2 separate regions of the Homo sapiens genome follow, and region 1 is linked to region 2. Evidence: promoter capture Hi-C in human tissues and cell types (Jung and others, 2019). All regions are on one chromosome and are shown on one strand. The core of a region is centred on a gene start or on the middle of the fragment in contact, and the rest is flanking DNA. Distances in the headings are between cores, read along the strand shown. Region 1 has its middle 48 kb from the start of C9orf153. Region 2 holds the start of C9orf153 (chromosome 9 open reading frame 153).

Region 1 (6,574 bases), core at 2,969-5,468, 47 kb before region 2:
AGGAATAAAAATGGAGAAAGTAAGACTTTAAAGTAAAATTATTAGAAATCCCCAGGAAGTAAAGAAGGAAAAAGAAACCAGAAAAAAAAATCCTATCAGTTAATTAAGCCTTGGAGTGACAAAGAGATCCAGAGCTTCCAAGGATATGGAAATTTCTTGGCTTTGAAGAGTTGAGGGAGAAGAATCATGAACAGTCTAAAGCAATTGCCCAGCGTCTCAAGTAGAAGGGCATGAAGAGGAAGCTGGCACGGATGTCTCCAGATGATGACACGTTTGCAGGGCTTTTTCTGGGCCACTCATGAGGCCACACAGATGCCAACGAGCCACCCTGGCCCTGTACTTATGGAGGGGCTCTGCACAGGATTTTGGGATAAGGATGGAAGGACAGTGTCTTTTGAGGTTCTCCCTGTGCGGTTTTGGTCATCCTTCTACCTTCTGAGTTCCAGCCCCAGGCCTATGGCATCCCTGTTTCACTTTGAGGCGTTGCTGTGGGCTCCTCCAGGCATGAGCTCCACGGAGGATCCTCAGGTACCCAGATGGGAAACTTGGAACAGGAACCCTCCATGGTAAGCCCCCTGCCTGTTTGGTTTTCCCCAGCAGCCAGCCCTCAAGCCCTCTGAAGCAGTGGTCCACCTCTTCTGATTCTGATCCAGATTGTGAACTTAGCAACAACTAGAACCTGGATCCCAATTCTGTCTGAAATCAACAGAATAATATGTTCTATACGTTGGTGCATGACTCTTTGCCTAACCCAACACAATGAGAGTAAAGTGTGAAATAAACAAAACATAAAAAGTAAAGAATCTGAGCTGTGAAGAGAGAGAAGGAAGCAGCCATATGGGAAAGGTCCCAAGCTTAGTGAGTTACAAGGAAGCTGGTGTGGCTGGATGGTAATGGTTGAGGGCACTGGGCACAGGGTGAAGCTAGCGGGTGTGGAGAGACTAGAAAACTAGAGTTTTGTGAACTTCTACTAAATACCGCATTGTTAAACAGGATTTGAGGAGTTTTGTTCGTTTGTTTTTTGTTTTTTGAGACGGAGTCTTGCTCTTGTTGCCCAGGCTGGAGTGCGATGGCGTGATCTTGGTTAACTGCAACCTCCGCCTCCCGGGTTCAAGCAATTCTCCTGCCTCAGCCTCCCAAGTAGCTGGGATTACAGATGCGCGCCACCATACTGGGCTAATTTTTGTATTTTTAGTAGAGATGGGGTTTCACCATGTTGGCTAGGCTGGCCTTGAACGCCTGACCTCGTGATCCCCCCCGCCTCAGCCTCCCAAAGTGCTGGGATTACAGGTGTGAGCCACCGCACCTGGCCGGAAGTTTTAAATGTACCCCTGTGTGGCAGACAGTGCTGGGTACCTCCCCTGTAACCATCCATTCCCATTTCTTCCCTTTCTCAAGAGCTCCAATTTAGTTTGGAGTTGCATAGTACCCAATTAAAAACACCCAATTCCAGGCCAGGCACGGTGGCTCATGGCTGTAATCCTAGCACTTTGGGAGGCTGAGGCAGGCGGATCACTTGTCAGGAGTTCAAGACCAGCCTGGCCAACATGGCAAAACCCCATCTCTACTAAAAATACAAAAATTAGCCAGGCGTGGTGGCACGTGCCTATAGTCCTAGCTACATGGGAGGCTGAGGCAGGAGAATCATTTGAACCCAGGACACAGAGGTTGCAGTGAGCCAAGATGGTGCCACTGCACTCCACCTGGGCAACGGAGCAAGACTCTGTCTCAAACAAACACACACCCGTAATTCCAGAGTCCCTTACAGCTGGGGGTGGTCACACTACATGGTTCTGGATATGATATGTATCCAGAATGCTGATGAGAAGGTCCTCCCTTCCAAAATAAAACAGGGAACTTCGAGAAGATGGCTTTTCATGCTTTTTCATTCTTCCTGTCTGGCGCACTGATGCAATGTCTGTGGGGATAGCAGCCACCTTATAACTATGCCAATGAAACCACAAATAAAAAAATGAGATGAGAGAAAGACAGGAGTCTGGGAGACTGGTGGTATTCTGAGCCTACCGCGCTGCACAGCCCTGCTGACCTCTGCACATTTTGCTGGACACAATAAACTAATGTGTATTTTAGGTGCTGGCATCCATGCATTTTCATACTTGTAACCAAGCACCATGCTAAACCATACAACACAGAATAGAAAAAAATAACTGTTTAAGGAACTGGGGAAAATATTGGTTAAAATAATCCAGGGATAATAGTAACCCAGAAGAAGGCAAAGGTAGTCTTATCTTTCTGAAATTTGGCCTCAAGGAGTATGGAAACCAAAACCAAGAGGAACTTTCTCAATGCAACTACTCGTACTACTATTAATTTTACTACTACTAATAAAGATAATAATACACACTAGCAGCAAAGCCAGCTTACATTTTTAAAGTGCTTACCATGTACCAGGCACTCTCCTAAGCACTCCACATCTTAAATTATTGAATCCTAAGAGCAACCTTCACAATTATTATCTTTATTTCACAAATGAAGATATTGAGATAGAGAGAGCTTAAATGATTTGTGAGGATCAAAGAGCCAAAATTTCAACCTAGGATGCCTTACTACAAGGCCTGCTGTGTGAACCAAATTTTATGAAATTCTCTTAATATGCGATATAATATCACTTCATCTTTGGTAAAAATTCTGCTCAAATCTTCTATTTTTAAAAATTGGTTGATTATCATCCTAATATCAAGTATCTATTTGCTTTTTACAGTTAAAACAGTAACATTGCTGCCAGGCGTGGTGGCTCATGCCTGTAATCCCAGCACTTTGGGAGGCTGAGGTAGGTGGATCATTTGAGGTCAGGAGTTCGAGACCAGCTTGGCCAGCATGGTGAAATCCCGTCACTACTAAAAATACAAAAATTAGCTGGGCGTGGTAGCGGGTGCCTGTAATCCCAGCTACTCGGGGGGGCTGAGGTAGGAGAATCGCTTGAACCCGGGAGGCGGATGTTGCAGTGAGCAGAGATCCTGCCACTGCACTCCAACCTGGGCGACAGACTGAGAGACTGAGACTCTGTCTCAAACAAAACAAAACGAAACAAAACACAACCCAAAAAACAGTAACATTGCTGAACAGTCCAAAGAAACAAAGCGGAAGGAAGCAATGGCATGGCATCTTCAAAGAGCAGACAGAAAATAACTTCTAACCTAGAATTCTGGATCCAAGGAAAATATCCTTCCCACATGAAAGTGATATACAAACTTTTTTTTTTTTTTTTGAGAGGGAGTCTCACTCTGTTGGCCAGGCTGGAGTATGGTGGCACAACCTCTGCCTCCCGGGTTCAAGCGATTCTCCTGCCTCAGCCTCCTGAGTAGCTGGGACTACAGGCACATGCCACCACGCCTGGCTAATTTTTTGCTTTTTTAGTAGAGATGGACTTTCACTGTGTTAGCCAGGATGGTCTTGATCTCCTGACTTTGTGATCCACCTGCCTTGGCCACCCAAAGTGCTGGGATTACAGGTGTGAGCCACCACACCCGGCCCAAACATTTTTGAATGAACAAAAAATTGAAAAATTCATTGCCAGCCTACCCACTCTAAAGGAAATATTAAAGATTGTCCTCCAGGCAGAGGGAAAATTAAGCCAGATAAAAACTTGCTTAGAGATGTAGAAAGAAATTAAGAACAAGGCCGGGTGTGGTGGCTCACGCCTATAATCCTAGCACTTTGGGAGGCTGAGGTGGGCGGATCACCTAAGGTCAGGAGTTCGAAACCAGCCTGGCCAACATGGCGAAACCCCATCTCTACTAAAAATACAAAAAATTAGCCGGGCATGGTGGTGGGCGCCTGTAATCCCAGCTACTTGGGAGGCTGAAGCAGGAGAATTGTTTGAACCCAGGAGACAGATGTGGCAGTGAGCTGAGATCTCACCACTGCACTCCAGCCTGGGTGACAGAGCGAGACTCCATCAAAGAGAAGAAAGAAAGAAAGAAAAAGAAAGAAAGAAAGAAAGAAAGAATATGTAGGTAAATCTAAATGAATAGTAACTATATAAAACCTTATAAAACTGTAAATAATGTCTTGTGGGGATACTTATTATTATATATTAGAAAATACGTTTTCAGATACATACAGTCACTATAGTTGCTTGTAGGGATATATAATATTATTACATATTAGCAAATATATATTATACATATAGTCATTAAGCTTAGACATTGGCAAGAGGTACTTTTCCCTGGGCCCTGAACTCTGGCCTTATTTCAGCCATGCCCTACCTTACAGGATGAGGAATCCAGGGGGCCCAGGGAACATGCCCACCTGGAGCCTTTATCACTCCATCTGGAGCACAGTTAGGTATCTGAGACCTCAGAATTTCCCACTCAAAATGATCTGATTATTCTTCCCGGCTTGTGTGGGCCCTTTCCCTGGCTCCTTCCTTCCAAGGGCAAACCACACTGCCAGCACCTAGCACCTAGGAGTGGACACGTGGAGGCTGTTTGTAGCCAGTGTCTGCAGAGTTGGGTTGTCCATACGCACATGCATGAGGCCCTCACAGTGTTAGAGCTGGAAGTGGGAAGAGAAGGATGACTGAGCATCAGGTACCAGAGGCTATCTCTCTTGTGCCATACCATTTTAGCACAGAACTACAGAGAGCTCTAAATTAGAATTTAGAATTTGAATTTGGCCCTTCAAGTTGTCATGAAGGATTATTGGTAAATGTAGAAAATAGCACCCATTTTATTCAATAGTTTGTTAGCTTGGTTTATTCTTTAAACTATCTAGATATATGGTGTGTAGGTCTCCATCTGTACTCTTTGTCTGAGCCCCAAAATTGGTTACGGGGCAGGTCTCTCTACATAGAATTAAAATATACAAAAACAGCCAGGCACAGTGGCTCACGCCTGTAATCCCAGCACTTTGGAAGGCTGAGGTGGACGGATCATGAGGTCAGGAGTTTGAGACCAGCCCGGCCAATATGGTGAAACCCCATCTCTACTAAAAATACAAAAATTAGCCAGGTGTGGTGGCACGCGCCTGTAGTCCTAGCTACTTGGGAGGCTGAGACAGAAGAACTGCTTGAACCTGGGAGATGGAAGTTGCAGTGAGCCGAGATTGCGCCACTGCACTCCAGCATGAGTGACAGAGTGAGACTCCATCTCAAAAAAAAAAGATATATATGCGCGTGCACACACACACACACACACACACAAACAATAGTCCATAATTTGGAATGGTGATAAATGGAGTTAAAGGGTCCTAAGGCAGTAGCATGTCTGAGATGAGGTAAAAGCACTAGTATACAATGTTTTCTTCTAAGTTAAAGATGTTTGAGGCTGGGCATGGTGGCTCACGCCTGTAATACCAACACTTTGGGAGGCCGGGGGGGAGGATCACCTGAGGTCACAAGTTCAAGACCAGCCTGACCAACATGGAGAAACCCTGTCTCTACTAAAAATACAAAATTAGCTGGACCTAGTGGCACATGCCTGTAATCCCAGCTACTTAGGAGGCTGAGACAGGAAATTCGCTTGAACCTGGGAGGCGGAGGTTGCAGTGAGCCAAGATTGCACCATCACACTCCAACCTGGGCATCAACAGCAAAAAAAAAAAAAAAAAGATGTTTGTTGTAATATCTAAGGTATCCACTAAAATAATAGGCCGATAATGTATAGTTAACAAGCATTGAAGAAGGAAAATAAATTAAAAAGTAAACAAATCCAAAAACTGGCAAGAAAAATTGAGATAGTTAAGGCGAGAAAAACAGAAAGCAAGTAATAAGATGTTTAAATGGTGTATATCAATAACTAAATTAAGTGCAAATGGAATAAATGCCTCAGTTAAAAGCCAAAAATTGGCCAGGAGTGGTGGCTCACACCTGTAATCTCAGCATTTTGGAAGGCTGAGGGAGCAGGATTGCTTAAGGCCAGGAGTTTGAGACCAGCCTGGGCAACATAGTGAAACCTTATCTCTATGAAAAATTAAAAAAAATTAGCTGGGCACAGTGGCATGCACCTGTAGTCCCAGCTACTCAGGAAGTTGAGGCAGGAGGATCATTTGAGCCCAGGAGTTCAAGGCTGAGTGAGCTATGGTTGCACCACTGCACTCCAGCCTGGGTGACAGAGTAGGACTTCATCTCTGTCTTAAAAAAAAAAAAAGCCAAAGGTTCTAAGTCTGGATTAAAAAATCTCCAACAGGCTGGGCGTGGTGGCTCATGCCTATAATCCCAGCACTTTGGGAGGCTGAGGGGGGTGGATAATGAGGTCAGGAGTTTGAGACCAGCCTGAGCAACATGGTGAAACCCCGTCTCTACTAAAAATATAAAAATTAGCTGGGTGGGGTGGTGTGCTCCTGTGATCCCAGCTACTCAGGAGGCTGAGGCAGGAGAATCGCTTGAACCCGGGAGGAGGAGGTTGCAGTGAGCCAAGATCACGTCACTGCAATCCAGCCTGGGTGACAGAGTGAGACTCCATCTCAAAAAAAAAAAAAAGGAAAAAAAAGAAAAGAAAAACAACAACAACATGCTGTTTACCGGAGACATTACCTAAATATAAGAATACAAAAAAGTTCAATGTAAAAGAATAGAAAAGGTACAGCATATAAACATCAACTAAGAGAAAGT
Region 2 (5,903 bases), core at 1-2,500:
TTGAAGTAATTACTTTTAGAGAGCTTGTTTGGAGGTTCTAGCAGGGGAGTGCAGCTACTCATATACCCTTGCCCAAAGAACGGCCCTCCTCTGTTGGGGAAGGTTGTCCGCAGCGTCTGGAAGGACGCATGTGGACGGATGAGGGAGGAAGGAGACATCCACCTAGCCAGCCAGATCAGACAAATTAACCCTGGCCATCAGTGGGGTGACAGATGTTGCAGCCAGATCACCCTCACATCCGGAAATAATTGCTTTTAAAACGCAATATTTGAAAACCTGAATTTTCTTGGGTAAGCAACTATTATATTGCTAATTTAACGAAACTTTTTTTAAAAATATTAATATACTTAAATTTTAGAGCAATTTTAGAATTGGTTAGAAAGTACAATGTTCCCACAACCCCCCTTCTCTGCACCATACACACAGCTTTCCCCTTTTTTTTTTACTACTTATGTTTGTGTGGTACGTTTGTTATACTTGATGAGCCGGTATCAATGCATGGTTACTAACTAAAGCCCATACTTCACAGTTTACATTACGGTCCATTCTTGGTGTTGTGCATTCTATGAGATTTCACAATGTGCAATTACATATATCCACTTTGATAGTATCATACAGAGCAGTGTTTTTTTTTTTTCTTTGAGATAGGCTCTCATTCTGTCACCCCAGCTGGAGTGCAGTGGCGTGAACACAGGTCACTGCAGCCTCAACCTCCCAGGCTCAGGTGATCCTCCCATCAGCCTCCCAAGTGGCAGAGGAAAAACAAAGGACACTGGGTGTGAGGGAGAGGTGCAAAGTCAGGACCAAGCATCCATGGGAACACAGGGGAGGATGAAGGCACTGAGGTTGGGGAGAGAGAGCAGAGCTATCAGTGTTGAAGGCCGGAAAGGATGAGGGAGTCTGCAGGCTCGGCCCGATCAACTGGTTCCAGCTTCTGTGACCTGCCTGGAGGAAGATGAAACAGGCTCCTCATCCTTATTGGTAAAGATAAACCCAAATCCCATCTCACCTCCCAGCTCTGGTCTTCCCACCTTAGCCACTGCCCACCTCACTCCATCTCTCCTTGCCAAGCCTAGACTGGCTTAGTTTTCACTGCTCTGTGGTCTCACAGTGCCCCGTGGCTATGGCTGTAGATGCACTTACCACTTGTTTTACAGTTGTCTCTTCACGTGGTCATATCTGTCTTGAGTCTCTGCACTCCCAGGGCAGAGGCTGGGTCTCATTCATCCAGCAGCCCCAAGGCCCAGCCCCACTCCTAGCATGTGTCATTGCTTAGTGTTAAGTGACTGTCCATTGTGACATGTGGACATTCTCAAGGTCACATAAGCAGCTATATGATGCTAAGCGATGGGGAATTATCTTGCTGCTTGGTGGGGGGTGGGAGACGGTGGAGGATGATGGAAAAGCATTTTTAAAGAGTGAACATTGAGTAGCTGAGTAGCTACTTTTTTTTCTGCCTCAGCTTGTGGCTGGGACCCCGGGCGCACGCCACCACGCCTGGCTAATTTATGTATTTTTCTCTAGAGATGGGGTTTCGCCATGTTGCCCAGGCTGGCGTGAGTATAATTTTTTTTTTTTTTTGAGATGGAGTCTCACTCTGTCGCCCAGGCTGGAGTGCAGTGGCACGATCTCAGCTCACTGCAAGCTCCGCCTCCCGGGTTCACGCCATTCTCCTGCCTCAGCCTCTTGAGTAGCTGGGACTACAGGTGCCGTGAATGTAATTTTTAATCAGTCAAGTTTTTCCTTCTATAGACATGGGCAAAGTGCAAATAAGAAATTGAGAGAGATAATAGAAGGTACAGCTATGCTCTTTGCACCTGGCCAGATATGGGTAGAAGTGGACCAGGGGCTACCTGGCTGTGCAAATTCTCTCCATGAGCCATGCAGCCGTGCTCCAGACTCCATTCCCCACCCATGGGAGGTCCCTGTGGCAATCACTGAAAATTTTCCTGAAACAGCCATTTCCCCAGAATGCAATCTACTGGGCATTTAAATAGTCTGATTGAGTTAATAACTTGTGAACACCGTGGCAACATATCCATAACATGAAGCTTACCGTGTTAAGCCGTTTTAGGTACACAGTTCTGTGGCATTCAGTACATTCACATTGTTGTGCCACCTGCACTGCCTTCCATCTCCAGAGCTTTTTCATCTTTTCCACCTGAATCTGTGTCCATGAAATAAATTTCTCACCCCCTGTCCCCTGTCAATGGACACCTGGGTTGTTCCTACCTTTTGGCTATTGTGAATAATGCTGTTATGAACATGGATATACAAGAAAGTTAATAATTTTAAGCAGAATTTAATAAATACAGAAGATTCTTCCAATGAGAAAATATTTCAAAAGCCTGCCATTCAAAGGTGTTCTGCAGAGCAACAGCACTGGCTTCACTTGGGCCTTTGCTACTAATGCAGAATCTCAGGCTCTGCCCTGGACCTTTGTTACAGAATCTGCTTTTTTTTTTTTTTTGAGACAGTTTTGCTCTGTCACCCAGGCTGGAATGCAGTGGTGCCATCTCATGTCACTGCAACCTCCCCACCTCCCAGGTTCAAGTGATTCTCCTGCCTCAGCCTCCTGAGTAGCTGGGACTAGAGGCGCCCACCACTATGTCTGGCTAATTTTTGTGTATTTTTAGTAGAGATGGGGTTTCACCATGTTGGCCAGGCTGGTCTCGAACTCCTGACCTCAAGTGATCCACTCGCCTCAGCCTCCCAAAGTGCTGGATTACAGGCGTGAGCTACCTACTGCGCCCGGCCAAGAATCTGCTTTTTAACAAGACCCCCAGGTGACTTATTTGCACCTTAAAGTTTGAGGACTGCTTCAAGACATAGAATCCATGGAGAACAAAAAATGAGTACTTTATTTTTTATTCTTTTTTTTTTTGAGACAGGGTCTTGCTCTGTCATCCAGGCTGGAGTGCAGTAGTACGATCTTGGCTCACTGCAACCTCTACCTCCTGGGCTAAAGTGATCCTCTCACCTTGGTCTCCTGAGCAACGGGGACTACAGGCATGTACCACCATGACCAGCTAATTTTTGTATTTTTTGTAGAGACGGCGTTTTACCACGTTGCCCAGGCTGGTCTTGAACTCCTGGGATCAGGTGATCTGCCCACTTTTGCCTCCCAAAGTGCTGGGATTACAGGCTTGAGCCAACACACCTGGCCCAATAAATGGGCACTTCATCATGAAAAGTTTCGGAATCACTAGCTAGTGGAAGTAAAAGCAGTAACCCATCAAGGCCCTCAAAGTAGGCTAGTTTTAAGCTGAGTACCGCTGGTACAGAGCCCTTGCCCCGCTAAAGGTTGGTGTGAAATGAAGCCTTCCCTGAACACTGCACAGCAGCAAGGGAGGATGGGAGTCCACAGTGATGTAACCACCACATGGCTCTGTATTTCAATAGAGGCTGAGGCTAGGGTGCACCTCCCTCTCTCCTCCATCTCTTGTCTGATGAGACCCACCTGGGACCAGGAGATTGAGTTCCTACTGGGGAATGAGCTTTCAAAACAGCTCCTCAATTAAGGCAGGTTTGTCTATAGTTAATCAGCTACTAAGAGAATGAAATTTCTCCGAATGTTTATATTTGAAATTTATGGTTCTTTTCAAAGAAGTTACTGTGGTCTTTTATTTGAAGGAAATACAGCAAATTTCCCCCAGATTTGAATATGGGACAATAACTCCCTAAATGTGTTGAAACTCTTTCCCTAAGCTCTTGCTTTGATTGATAATCCATTAACATATTATCCCTTTTTGCACAAGAAAATGGCTAAAAGGGACAAGAATTACAACGTATGAAACGTCTACCCTTAGCAGGATGCCATTTATGTGTAGTTAGCTCATCACATCCCCCCAAATTCTGAGACTGTTTTACAGAAGGTTACATGGCTACAAAATGACAGGAACCATGATTCAAATCCAGGCATATCTCACCCCAAACCTACACCTTTCCAGGCCAGCCTCCCAGCCTGCACTGAGCTCAGGTGAGCTGTATTTGGGTTTATTCTGGGTCGATGCTGTGTCTGGCCCATGCCACGTCTGCTCTAAGGCTCAAATGAGACACTGATGTTGCTTACAGCTCAGCTTAGCACAGGCTTTTCCATTTCCTGATTTCTCAGGTATCAAAACATGACAAGAAAGGCCATTTTTTTTTTGAGGTATTTCCTGCTGAGTGAAACCTAGGAAATACTGGAAATCTTAGGGACATCTGATCTTGTAGGGATTGTTCCCAACCCTTTCCTGTTTGAGAAAAAAAAAATCATTCTGGTGGGTCCGGTGACAGAGGGCTGGGAGGCGCCCTGCAACAATGAAGCACAGCAGGCCTCTGTCCTCATGGCCTGATTCATTCAATTTAGCATCCTGATGTGGAAGAGTGGGCTTATAACTGATCATGAAAAGCCTGAAGTCTGCTGCTAAGCGACAGATCTGCTGGCCTACACATCACCCAGGGGCACTACCAAATCGCCTAACACAATGACCAGTGTTTGTGAGTAGAATGTGGATGAATGTGGTGCAACAGACAGAACCTTCCTGGTGAGGGCTAAGGCTTGCATGACATGGTGTGACATGGCCGTAGGATGGAGCCATTTTGCAAAAATAATTCTGACCTGCCCGATGCTAAACGAACACTGAAGAAGCAATTGCGTTCCTGTCTCCAAGATCCTTTCAATATTGTACAAGAGACAAGAACCAAAACCAATGAACAGTACAAGTACTGCCTGTACAAATAGAAATGAGTCACAGAACACTGGCTGATGAGGTTGGGCTACGGATAGAGTACCATCCTTTCTGCCTCCTAAGCCTTTCTCTCACGGGTCCCTGCTCAGGTCCTATTATAGCGGGCTTTGCAGTAGCTTCTTCCTGTCCTCATCAGCCAGCCTAGTCCAGGCCATGGAAACACTTCCAAATGCAATTTTCTAATGAGTGCCCCTAAACACTTTCAGTGGCCCCAAGGCCTACAGAACTTGCAGAAAGCCCAAACGCCCCAGGCATCTACCTTGCCCTCCAGCCTTACTGCTCCTCTCCGGGCCTCATTCTCCGGAGTGCTTAGCTTCACTGTGTTTTTATTATTACTTTTTATTATACTTTAAGTTCTAGGGTACATGTGCACAACGTGCAGGTTTGTTACTTATGTATACATGTGCCGTGTTGGTGTGCTGCACCCATTAACTCGTCATTTACATTAGGTATATCTCCTAATGCTATCCCTCCCCCACGACAGGCCCTGGTGTGTGATGTTCCCTGCCCTGTGTCCAAGTGTTCTCATTGTTCAATTCCCACCTATGAGTGAGAACACGCCCTCTGTGTTTTTTCAACCCTCTTTAGTACTGTTCACTGTCTTCCCTCTTCCCCAAATCTCTTTCAACTAGGCGCAGGGGTCATAACCTGTAGGCTACCTTTTTAGAAGCGCACTCCGTTGGTTCTATCAGGACACGCAGTATGGCCTAACAGCTGGGAGCACAGCATCTGGAGCCATAGACACAGGGTACGATTCTGACTTGGCCACCTTAGCTATTTTATTTAAGCTGTGTTTTGGTTTATCTATGAAAAAGACAGTAGTCAGACCTGCATTCTCGATTGCTGAGATGATGTTTATTAGAACACTTCCTGGCATGCAGTGAGCATGCCATCACCACCAGCTGCTCACAACACTTACCATGGTGATCGATGCTCTTCGCTGGTGTCTCATTTGCCGACTTGAAGCTCTCTGAGGTTGGGACTGTCTTTGATGACCTGTGAAAGCTCAGGGCTAGTGGAGAGTCAGTGCTCACTACTGTGCCTGAGTGAACAGCTGAGAACCTTCTTGGAGGAGGTTCACATAAAAGCTCAGATGACAGAGGGAAAAGCACTCCAGGTAGTGATAATGCTCTCGTCCTAAGGACATGAGGAACCTGCTTGGGGGATGGA

The links. The method cuts DNA at HindIII sites, captures the fragments that hold promoters and counts their contacts. A contact is called where the count stands out against the background at its distance.
Region 1: a fragment that was not itself captured here is called in contact with the fragment with the promoter of C9orf153 in region 2 in 1 of the 25 tissues and cell types used here (H1 embryonic stem cells).

What each region holds. Positions count from the first base shown.
Region 1 is chr9:86,208,681-86,215,254 of GRCh38, forward strand. No RefSeq gene overlaps it. Among named protein-coding and RNA genes, the nearest start is that of C9orf153, 48 kb to the right of the region's middle. The HindIII fragment of the contact is 3,422 bases long and covers 2,508-5,929 here.
Region 2 is chr9:86,258,407-86,264,309 of GRCh38, forward strand. It overlaps C9orf153 (chromosome 9 open reading frame 153), which reads right to left and starts at 1,251. Exons shown (of 4, transcript NM_001276366.4): 1 at 1,144-1,251. It also overlaps the pseudogene RN7SKP264. The HindIII fragment of the contact is 6,872 bases long and covers 1-4,820 here.